Linked DNA regions of Homo sapiens: region 1 is linked to region 2. Evidence: promoter capture Hi-C in human tissues and cell types (Jung and others, 2019). All regions are on one chromosome and are shown on one strand. The core of a region is centred on a gene start or on the middle of the fragment in contact, and the rest is flanking DNA. Distances in the headings are between cores, read along the strand shown.

Region 1 (5,502 bases), core at 607-3,106, 230 kb after region 2:
CTAATTCCTGAGTCAAGTCTGGGAGGAGGCAGCACACACATCAAAAGAATTGCAAGATTTTGCTAACTTATATCAGCAAAAATCTGGATAGCGTATATCAGAATGTTTTCTGTGGGTGCTAATCCAGGGACGGAGGAATATGACTTTCACCGGGCTGAATTTATTAATATAGGTACATTTAGCTGAGATTCTAGATTCAATGTGCCAGTGTGAGCAGCTAGGAGTGGTTTTGTTTGCTTAACTGGTTGACTGACTCCTGGATTCAATCAAGGCCTGTGCTCATTGAAATTGAGATGCCAGAAGTTCCTCGTTTTAATATAGAAGATGCAATCCAAAGACCAAGGGAGGGAGGAATGTTGAGGTGACTGTTCCCTGTGTGGCCCACTCCCTCTCCTTGGCTAAGCTCCACATGCCTAACTTCCTCTTGTACAGAAAGACCCCCTTCACCAAGGCACCCAGAAACACATGAGTGAGGGAAGCATCTCTGAAGCATGTTGCAGCACTTGCTCTCTGTGGGCTCGGCATACTGGTGGGAGATGCTGCCATGAAAATGGACTCCATGATTTCAGTGGAAATGATAGGACCCCAGGGGAGCAGAGGGCGAGCAGCACTCGACCACCCAGGACATCAGACCTCAGGTGGCAATAAGCATGTTCTGACCATAGATGTCTTCAGCAAAGGCTGATCAATCAAGGACCAAATAAGACCAAGGAGACCAAACAGATGGGCAGCTCTTAAGGTCCTCCTTAATCTCTCTTTCTCTTTTTTTTTTTAGATGGGAGTGCAGTGATGCGATCTCGGATCGCTGCAACCTCCACCTCCTGGGTTCAAGTGATTCTGCTGCCTCAGCCTCCCTAGTAGCTGGGATTACAGGCATGCACCACTACACCCAGCAAATTTTTGTATTATTAGTAGAGACAGGATTTCACCATGTTGGCCAGGCTGGTCTTGAACTCCTGACCTCAGGTGATCCACCCACCTTGGCCTCCCAAAGTGCTGGGATTACAGGTGTGAGCCACCGCACCTGGCCCTCCTTAATCTCTATAACAGAAACAGGAAATCAAAACAACCAACAAACAAACACAAACCCTCTAGAGCTGGCAAGTGGAAGCTTGACTTGAGCCACTAAGAACAAGATCTCAACCTCTCACCCAAAGTCCCTAGAATGAAAGAGAGGCCAGTACCCTTCAGAAAAGCCCCTTGAATAGCACCAGAGATACATACTGTAAATCATTCCTTCAGCCTTCTGCAAACGGTCCTGGGCCATTTGCCAGAAAACTGTGCTCTGTGGAAAGAAAATACTCAAATTTTTCAGGGATTAGTGGATGTTAAGTCTATTTAATGTTAATTCCTGAGGACCCAGAAAGCTGCTGTGTAGAGGCTCAGGTTGGTCAGGTAATAATTGGAGTTTTGACCCAAGTGCAGTGGGACCCTGAACCCATTCTGCAATTATTATTATTTTTTTTTTACTTTCATGATATATAATTGGAATTACAGGTAGAATTCATACATGAGCCTCCAGACCTGTGGAATAAGCGTAATTATGGCAAAATGATCAAGTGGAAACCCCTCAATCTCCTCCTTCTTACCAAAATAATACACCAATAATAAATTCTGGGGAGTAACAGGAACTTGTGCCACCATCAAAGACTTGAAAGATGCAAAGGTGGTTTCTGTCACATTTCATTTAACTCATCTATTTGGTCTGTGCAGAAGGCACGGGTCTTGGAGAATGACAGGTCATTACTGTAAGCTTACTCAGGTGGTGAGTTCAGTTGCAGATGCTATTATTCCAGGTGTGGTCTTTTTATGGGAATTATAATTGTTTTTTTGTCACAATGTAAAACTATCTGATGAGTTATGTTTTCTTGTCCTCTACAGACAGTCCCCTTAGCAGTTTTCTTTCTGTTGGCAGGGATAGCAGTACACCTTTCTCATCTTGTCTTGAAACTCCTCAAGTCTCTGATTTTCTATGTAGATTTTGATCATCCTCCCATATCACAGGCCATTATATTTGTCCACTACATTGATTATACTATGTTGCTAGGATTGGGAGAAGGAGAAGCAGTGGGTACTTCAGATGCATCAATAAGACATAAGTGTGCCTAAGAATGGAAGTAAGTTTCATGAGAACATAGGGGCCTGCCAACCACGTGAAGTTCCTGGGTGTTCAGTGATCTGGATCCCTGCAAAATGAAAGACAACTTGCTGGGCTTTCTGCCTCTTACTGCTAATAAGCACAACACTTCTTGGGCTTCTATGTATTCTGGAAGCAAAATATATTGGTGTGTTTCTCTGATCCTTATAAGGTTATTGAGTAACCTATAAGGCTGCAGGGTTGGAGTGGGGTCCAGAGAAAAGGAAAGTTTCCAGGTGGTCCAGAATGAAAGGCAAGCAGCTCTGCCACATGGCCCTGATAGCCCAGCCGATCCCAAGATGGCTCAAGTGTCTGCGGCAGATGGGATGGTATTTGAACCCATGGCAAACTCTGATAGAAGAATCAAAATGGAGTATCTACAATTTAGGAGTGAAGCCTGGTGCTCCTTAGCAAGCAGTTTTCCTCCTTTTGGGGAAGGACTCTTGGCTCACTGCTGGCTGGGCTTAGCTGACAGTGGTCTCAGTGTGGGAGGCACCAAGGGATTGTGAAAGTAATTAATGACTGTAACACACAGTGTGTTCTTTTCTCAGGGATACTTGGGTTATATGTGCTCAGTGGTTGCTAAATGAGATGTCAGTAAATTATGCATCAGGTATGAAAACACACTTGACTTCTCTCCTTTCTTATCCCCCTTATCCGAAATCGGGCTTCTGTTTCTTCTACTCTAGAGAGTCTACAATTGCCAAAGTCAGTGATCTCTTTATTGCTACTTTAAAAAAAACTAATTTCAGCCGGATGCAGTGGCTCATGCCTGTAATCCCAGCACTTTGGGAAGCCGAGGCGGGCAGATCGCGAGGTCAAGAGATCGAGACCATCCTGGCCAACATGGTGAAACCCCATCTCTACTAAAAATACAAAAAATTAGCTGGGCATGGTGGCATGCGCCTGTAGTCCCAGCTACTCGGGAGGCTGAGGCAGGAAAATCACTTGAACCTGGGGGGCGGAGGTTGCAGTGAGCCGAGATCACACCACTGCACTCCAGCCTGGCAACAGAGTGAGACTCCATCTCAAAACAACAACAACAACAAAAAAAACTAATTTCGCGCCTATGAAAAAAATTCCAACATACATGACAATTAAATAATAGTACACATAGCTGGGCACGGTGGCTCACGCCTGTAATCCCAGCACTTTGGGAGGCTGAGGCGGGCAGATCCTGAGGTCAGGAGTTCAAGACCAGCCTGACCAACATGGTGAAATCCTGTTTCTGCTAAAAATACAAAAATTAGCTAGGCGTGGTGGTGTGCGCCTGTAGTCCCAGCTACTCGGGAGGCTGAGACAGGAGAATCACTTGAACCTGGGAAGCGGAGGTTGCAGTGAGCGGAGATTTCACTACCACACTCCAGCCTGGCCGACAGAGTGAGACTCCATCTCAAAATAAATAAATAATAGTACCCATCACAAAACTTCAATATGTAACGACATTTTGCCCATTTTGTTCAACAGATTCTAAATCCATATTGCAGGGAAGCCGTTATGGTCTCTAACCCTGTTAACTCTTCATCCTTGATGTCTTCCCCAAGGTGACATTCCTTTCTAGTTTTCTTCTGACTCCTCTGCTGCTTTAGGGCAGCCTCCACTTGGGGGCTCCTTCTTTTGCCTGTCCCCTGAATGTGGGTGTTTCCCAGCGCTCTGACCTGACCCCATCCGTCTCTCGCTTTCCACACTCCTGCTGGGTAAACTCACCCTCTCTCATAGCCTTTTTACCTTCTGTGGGTTGGCGAGGCTCACATTTCAATGAGGTCTGCATCTCCGCCTTCAGCTCAGACCCTTTTCCCAGTCTCAGACCACCATGTCCAGAAGTCTGGACACCAAATTGAGTCCATCCTCCTGCCAAAACAAGCTGTTTCCTGGATTCCCATTAATCCACACAACAATAGAGATCTACTCATATTTATTAGATACCAATTTTTATGTAAGAAAAAAATGTAAGATTCTGGAACAAGCCAAAGAAATTACTGCTACATGAAAAAGATGGACAATAACAAGTGTTGGTAAGGATGTGGAGAAACTGGAACCCTCCTACACTGTGGGTGGGAATGTAAAACAGTGAAGCCCTGGCCCACCCAGAACCAGAATAAACGCCGTAGAGGATTTTTCCCCTTTTCCCCCCACTTCAAGAGATGGGCTCTTGAGCACAGTAGAATGATCAGAGCTCACTGCAGCCTTGAGCTCCTGGGTTCAAGCCTCAGCCTCCGAAATAGCTGGAACTACAGGCATGCACCACCACACCCAGCAGAGGATGTTGAACTGATGGCCCAAGGTGGAGAGGGAGTGAAAGTGCAGGTGCTTTGATGGATGAGGGATGGAGTGGCTTCCCTCCGGGAATGAAGGTGTGCAGAAAGGGCCACGCGCCTGCGGGCTGGGTTGCAGGGCCTCTGAGGGATGGGCTCAGATGTGGAAGCTATAGGAATGCCTGGGCAAACTGGGCAGAAATACCACAACCTGGGCAGGCTTTGGGAGGTCCCCAGCCAAGCCCTAGGGAGAGGGAGAGGGGCTGCCAGCCCCCCGGCTTGGGCTCAGGGAAGCCATAGTGATTCTTCTCAGGATGGCCTGAACCTCCTGGAATTGTGATAAGCCCCAAAGACAGGATGAGGCTCCAGGAAAATGACTAATATCAGATTTCCTGTCAACCGTGGCAACGAGAGAAGGGGGCTCCCAGTCTATTTAATTAGATTTACCAAAATAAAGACGTGGCATTTCTTACACCTGAGTGCCATGCTGTGATGCATAGACTGAATTACAAATTGTGAGATGGGTGAGGTAAGAGGGGGTGGCCATAGAGATAGTGAAAAGTGGGCAAATTTGCTATTTAGCAGGAAGGCCAGGCAGGTCTTACTGATAGTTTGGAAGCTGAGGGTCGGAGACTGGTACTGAAAAGGATTTCCCGGTTTCTGGCTGAGAACTGGGTCAACCCGAGTGCATTCCCACCCACTTCCTCTAGACCATCCATCCACTCAGCGGCACAGACTCCCGAAAGTGTCGCTCCAGTCCGAGTTGGCTCCTGTCCCTTGTCCACATAGACCGTCTCCCCGCTCCCCCAATATGGCACAAGGTGCCTAGGCCGTGTGGGGCGTCGGCAGGTATCACGGGTGGGGTCCATTGTGTGAGGACTAACATCGCGGCCTTTCCCCAGACCAGCCACCGGGGACTCCAGAGAGGCCTCGGCCCAGCTCCCGGAAAGGGTCTCCCAGCCAGGCCTTCTAGCGGCCCAAAGCGGGTAGGCAGAGCGCAGATACCGGGGCCTCTTTCGCCCACCCTCGCCAGGGCACTATCCTTCCCACCGGCCCGATCCCGCGTCCCGAGGTCTCGCGGGGCCAGGCTGCACGGGCGGCGGAGCCCGG
Region 2 (5,194 bases), core at 1,037-3,536:
CCCAATGTCCCAAAGGTCCACCAGTGAGTTTGAGGCAGGGCAGGGGGAGCCATGGAAAATACCTTGGCCTCAGAGACAGGGTCTCCAACAGGTGCCTGGAAGCCCATGGTGTCCACATCTTCCTGACAATCATGTCAGCAGGACAACAATGACACTTATCCCCCAAGTCACAGAGAGGTACAGAGAGACCCAAGAGAGGCTGAGTCACTCCGATCACAAGGCAGCCTAGGAAGGACAATGGAGTGGAGAATGGCTCCGACTCCCTGCTATGCCCTGCAGGAAGAAAAGCCTGACCTCATGGGTCAAGAGGGTCTTAATTTCAGGGCAGATGGATGTGGCTGGGGAAGGAGTCACATACCTTCCTACTGAGGACAGAGGCCTAGGTCACAGTGCTGGCCAGCCAGCTGCAATGGGGACTAGCCATCAAGGTTCATGCAGACACAGCATGATCTTCTGCCGTCCCCCCCAAAGCCTGGGCCTCCAGCACAGAGCAGGGCTCCCCTCCCTGGCCCATGAGGGGCCTGGCAGTGCCCTAGGGCCATCCACAGAGACATGACCAAGTGGACTCCAGCCTCCGCCCTGCCTCTGGCCCCTTTTGACCTTAGGCAAATCACATGGCCTCTAGCCCTCTGGTTCCTCTGCTAGAAAACAGGAAGAGGAAAATTAACCTCCTGGAAGAGCTGTCAGGAGGATGGCTGGAAAGTAGTTTCTAAACATTAAGAGCCTGAGTTGCCTCTGAGCCTGTTTCCTCCTCTAGAAAATGGAAATAATCTCTGCAAGCCCTTTCTCACACTGTGGAGAGAGAGTCTTAGATGGCAGTGGGTGAGAAATAGCTTTGTCAGTGGCCCTGAAAGGTGGTGCCCACCGGGGTGGTGTCTCTCTAGTCTGTTAGCTCCTTCAGGGGAGGAGTGGGCCTTGCGCATCTTTGATCCCCCACACTACGCCTAGTATACAGCAAGAGCTTAATAATAAATGGAAACGAGGAGAGGGGAGGGGAGGAAAGGAAGGAGGCAGAAGTCGGACACAAGAATAGAAGAGAAAGACAGAAAACAATGAGAAAGAGGGGGAGCCCAGGGAGAGGCTGCTGTGCCCACTTAGGGGGTGGGGAGGGCAACGGGGAAAATAGGGTGGCAACGCTGAGCCCCTGACCAGCGCTGGTCCTGTCTGAAGGGCTGCCCCCAGGGGCTGTCCTGCTCCAGCCCCCTCCTCCTTTTGTCCCAGTTTCCCCTTTCAGAGGCAGAGACTGTTTCTGAGTATTTCAGGACAGGTTCTAGGAGAACGGGAGGGGTTCTCCCAGCCCTAGGTTCAAAACAGCCCCTGGCCAGCCACTCCTCAGGAGGTCAGAGGGAAAGGGAACAGAGTAGATGGATGGGATCTATTTGGATGAAATGCGATCTGTTTTCCCCAGGCTGGGGGTGGCGGGGGGCGCTCTACCCTGTGTGATGTGTGTGTTTCCACTTCTGGCCATGTGGGGCCTGAAGCGTGTGTGTCAGCGGGCCTTGGGCTAGCAGCTCGTGCCTGTGGGGTGCCAGTCTTTGAGGGCATCAGTCTGATTGTGTCTGTGGGGGTCAGTGTTGGTGTGGCCTTGCGCTCCGCTGTGTTGGTGAGACATGCCAGCACAAGTGTGTGTGCCAGTGAGGGTGATGTGTGTGCCAGCAAGAGTGTTTGCTACAGCGAGTGCAGGTGACAGTGTGCGTATCAGTGTATGCCCACACGTGTGTGCCAGCACGAGGGTGTGCTAGAATTGGTGTGTGTTGGATTGTGAGCTGTGCATGCCAACAAGGCTGTCAGCAAGAATGTGTTGACCGAGGCGTGTATGACGGCGTGCCACTGCGTGTGATGAGCGTGTGCTAGCGGTTGCCAGTGTGTGCGCCAGCATGCCTGTGCCACGGGTTAGTGTGCCCGTGCGTGTATTGTGTGTCAACCTGCCCCCGTGCGTCTCTGCGGCTGCCGGCCAATGCTGGGTGTCAGCGAGCTGTGTGTCCGGGCCAGGAGCTGCGGCCCACATGGGGCGGCCCGGCCCTCGCCCTTTGGGTCCCCCCGCCCACGGCCCTGCCGGGGAGACCACACAGGAGACCTCGGGTGGAGGAGAGCTGGTACTAGATCCCGCGGTGGCCGCGAACGCAGAACCAGGACGCAATCGGAGCCCCCGCCCGTGTCCTCGCCGAGGTCGCCCCCACGCGCCCCCCGCCGGGCGGCCGCCCTGCACTCACCGGGTCCCTTTGTCGCCCATGGTCCGCGACGGTCGCAGGGAGGTCCGCGGCGTCAGCGCCCAGGCTGGAAAATCCCCAGCCAGCAGGAGGAGCGCGGGCCAGCCCGCTCCCGGCTCCCTGCTCCGCCTCCTCCGCTCTCCCGGCCGCCGCCGCCGCCCCCGCCCCCGGTCCCCGCCCGCCGCCCGCCGCGTCGAGCAGCGCAGCGCCCGGGCCGCGGCCAGGGGCGTGGAACCGCGCGGGGTGTGTGCGTGTGTGTATGTGTGTGTGTGTGCGCGTCTGCGTGTGCGCGCGCCGCCCAGCGAGGCAGGGCAGCGCGGCGGGACGCGTCAGGGCCCCAAGGTCGGCGTTTGTGGTGGGGGAGGGGGTCCACCCGCGTGCGAGTCCGTGTGAGAGTGTGTGTGTGTGTGTGTGGTGGTGGTGGTGGTGGTGTGGTGTATGTGAGGGCGCACGGCTGTGTGCGGGCCCTATTAGGGAGTGTATTGGTGTGGATGGAGGAGTGTGCACGTCTTTGTGCAGTTGTGCGTGTGTGCGCACGGCCGTGGGTGCGAGCGCGCTCTCCCGCGCATGCCGGGGCAGCCTTTGTGTGTGCGGGTGGTTGGAAGCCGAGGGTCTGGCGACCCCGAGGCCGCGCTCCCTGCGGCCCCTCGCTTAGCTGGAGACCCCGGGATGCCTGGCAAGGCCTTCGCCCTGTGCTCCACCCTTCCCCATTCCACCCACCCCACCCCCTTCTACTGGAGAGATAACACCCAGCCACACAACAGGGACAGGAAGAAGGGGCGGAGGGGGCAGTAGACGGCCTTGACACTGGGGAACTGAGCGGAGACCCGCGGCCAGCAGGGGCTGCAGGAGGCCGCCCAGGAAGAGGAAGCTGTGAGAAGTGAGAAGAGGCGATAAAGGAAGAGGGCAGAGCTGGCCCGCTGCTGTGACCGGGTAGCACCGTGGAAAGCGCCCATGCCCAGCTCCATGGCTCGCTGTGGGTGACCCTGTGCACTAAGCTTCTGAGAACCCATGTCCGGACCTGTAAAGTGAGGATACACTAATATCAGCCTGCAGAATTGTTAATAGGTTGAAAGAACTCGCTTGTGTTTGCTGGCCTCCCCTGAGCGCCTGCATACAGTAGGTGCCCAGTAGATGTTAGCCCACTTCTCTGCAGGCTTCTTGATGTCCTGTGAAATCTTGGCTGGGACCCTGCTTTGTCTGAGGTGCCTTCCTGCTTTGCAGGTAGTGGGAAACGGTAAGGTCTTTACCACACCCTCACTACTGAGATTTGGCTAATTATCCCGGATAGGTCCCTGATATCTAAGTATTAAGGGGAAAGTAAGCTATCATTTACTCTGATGCTGTTGTGAGTATGTAAACATCTCCTGTAATTATGCTCAGAAGCAGTTACCTATACTGTTTATATGCAGTATAATTACTATAATTATGTCCAGATTTGGCAGAGGGGCAGGGGGAGGCTGATGGGTAGGCAGGGTGGCCCACCTCTGGGCAATGTTAGGAGCTAGAGAGTATGGATGAAAGCCCAGAACCCTCCTCCCAGTCTTGGCCTCTGGGTTTCACCCTCTACAGAGGAAGAAGAGGAAGCCACCTGTTGTTTCTGCAGGGCTCAGAGATCTGGAAAGGAGCAGACTAGAATCTTCTTTGATGACAGGAGATCCCTAACCAGGATGGTGAAGCCAGGTCCTGCCACTCTCCACATCAGTTTCCCCACCTGTAAAACAGGTTTGACCAAACCATAAGATCTCCAATGGATCTCTCCATGCTGATGCCCAAAACATCTAAATATATTTATTTATTTTATTTATTTTTGAGACGAAGTCTTGCTCTGCCACCCAGGCTGGAGTACAATGGAATGATCTTGGCTCACTGCAACCTCTGCCTCCTGGGTTCAAGAAATTCTGCCACCTCAGCCTCCCCAGTAGCTGGAATTACAGCCACTGCCATCATGCCCAGCTAATTTTTGTATTTTTGTAGAGATAGGGATTCACCATGTTGGCCAGGCTGGTCTCGAACTCCTGACCTTAGGTGATCCACCCACCTTGGCCTCCCAAAGTGCTGGGATTACAGGCGTGAGCCACTGCTCCCGGTCGATTTAATTTACTTTAAATTCCAGTGAGGGAGCAACGATGGCAGAAGAAGAGTCAAGAGGACAATTTTGCTTTACCTGCCAGGCTCTATGAAAAACATATATATATATATATATATATATATATTTTTTTTTTTTTTTTTTTTTTTGAGACGGAGTCTTGCTCTGTCACCCAGGCTGGAGTGCAGTGGCGCAATCTCGGCTCACTGCAAGCTCTGCCTCCTGGGTTCGGGCCGTTCTCCTGCCTCAGCCTCCCGAGTAGCTGGGACTACAGGCGCCCACCACCACGCCCAGCTAATTTTTGAAAAACATATTTATGTATTAATAAAATGGCCGGGCATAGTGGCTCATGCCTGTAATCCTAACACTTTGGGAGGCCAAGGCGGGTAGATCACTTGAGGTCAGGCGTTCAAGACCAGCCTGGCTAACATGGTGAAACCCTGTCTCTCCTAAAAATACAAAAAAAAAAAAAAAAAAAAAATTAGCCAGGCATGGTGGCGGGCGCCTGTAGTCCTGGCAACTTGGGAGACTGAGGCAGGAGAATCACTTGAACCTGGGAAGTGGAGATTGCAGTGAGCCGAGATCACGCCACTGCACTCCAGCCTGGGTGACAGAGCCAGACTCCATCTCAAAAAAAAAAAAAATTAATAAAATGTAAAAGTGATAATGTTGAGGAGAACTCTTTGTATATCCACAATATAATCTCAGCCAGTAATAAGTTTTATGAAGAAAATAAAGCAATAATGAAACAGGGTGATAGGGACAAGTAGACTTAGAAAAAGGCCCTAGGCCCTCCGAGGAGGTGGGCTTTGGGCTGAAACCTGCGGAAAAGAATCAGCGATGTGAGGGGACAGTCAGGGAAGATGCTGCCCAGGCAGAAGGAGCAGCAACTGTA

Evidence for each region. The method cuts DNA at HindIII sites, captures the fragments that hold promoters and counts their contacts. A contact is called where the count stands out against the background at its distance.
Region 1: a contact is called between a fragment that was not itself captured here and the fragment with the promoter of ARRB1 in region 2, in 1 of the 25 tissues and cell types used here (mesenchymal stem cells).

What each region holds. Positions count from the first base shown.
Region 1 is chr11:75,577,904-75,583,405 of GRCh38, forward strand. It overlaps MAP6-AS1 (MAP6 antisense RNA 1), which reads left to right and starts at 5,293. Exons shown (of 2, transcript NR_145823.1): 1 at 5,293-5,378. RefSeq lists silencers at 227-395, 5,311-5,420, 5,431-5,502. The HindIII fragment of the contact is 6,092 bases long and covers 1-4,902 here.
Region 2 is chr11:75,349,375-75,354,568 of GRCh38, forward strand. ARRB1 (arrestin beta 1) reads right to left here and starts at 2,287. Exons shown (of 16, transcript NM_004041.5): 1 at 2,214-2,287. The coding sequence starts at 2,233. RefSeq lists enhancers at 1,428-1,477, 2,540-3,495 and a silencer at 2,028-2,307. The HindIII fragment of the contact is 14,768 bases long and covers 1-4,923 here.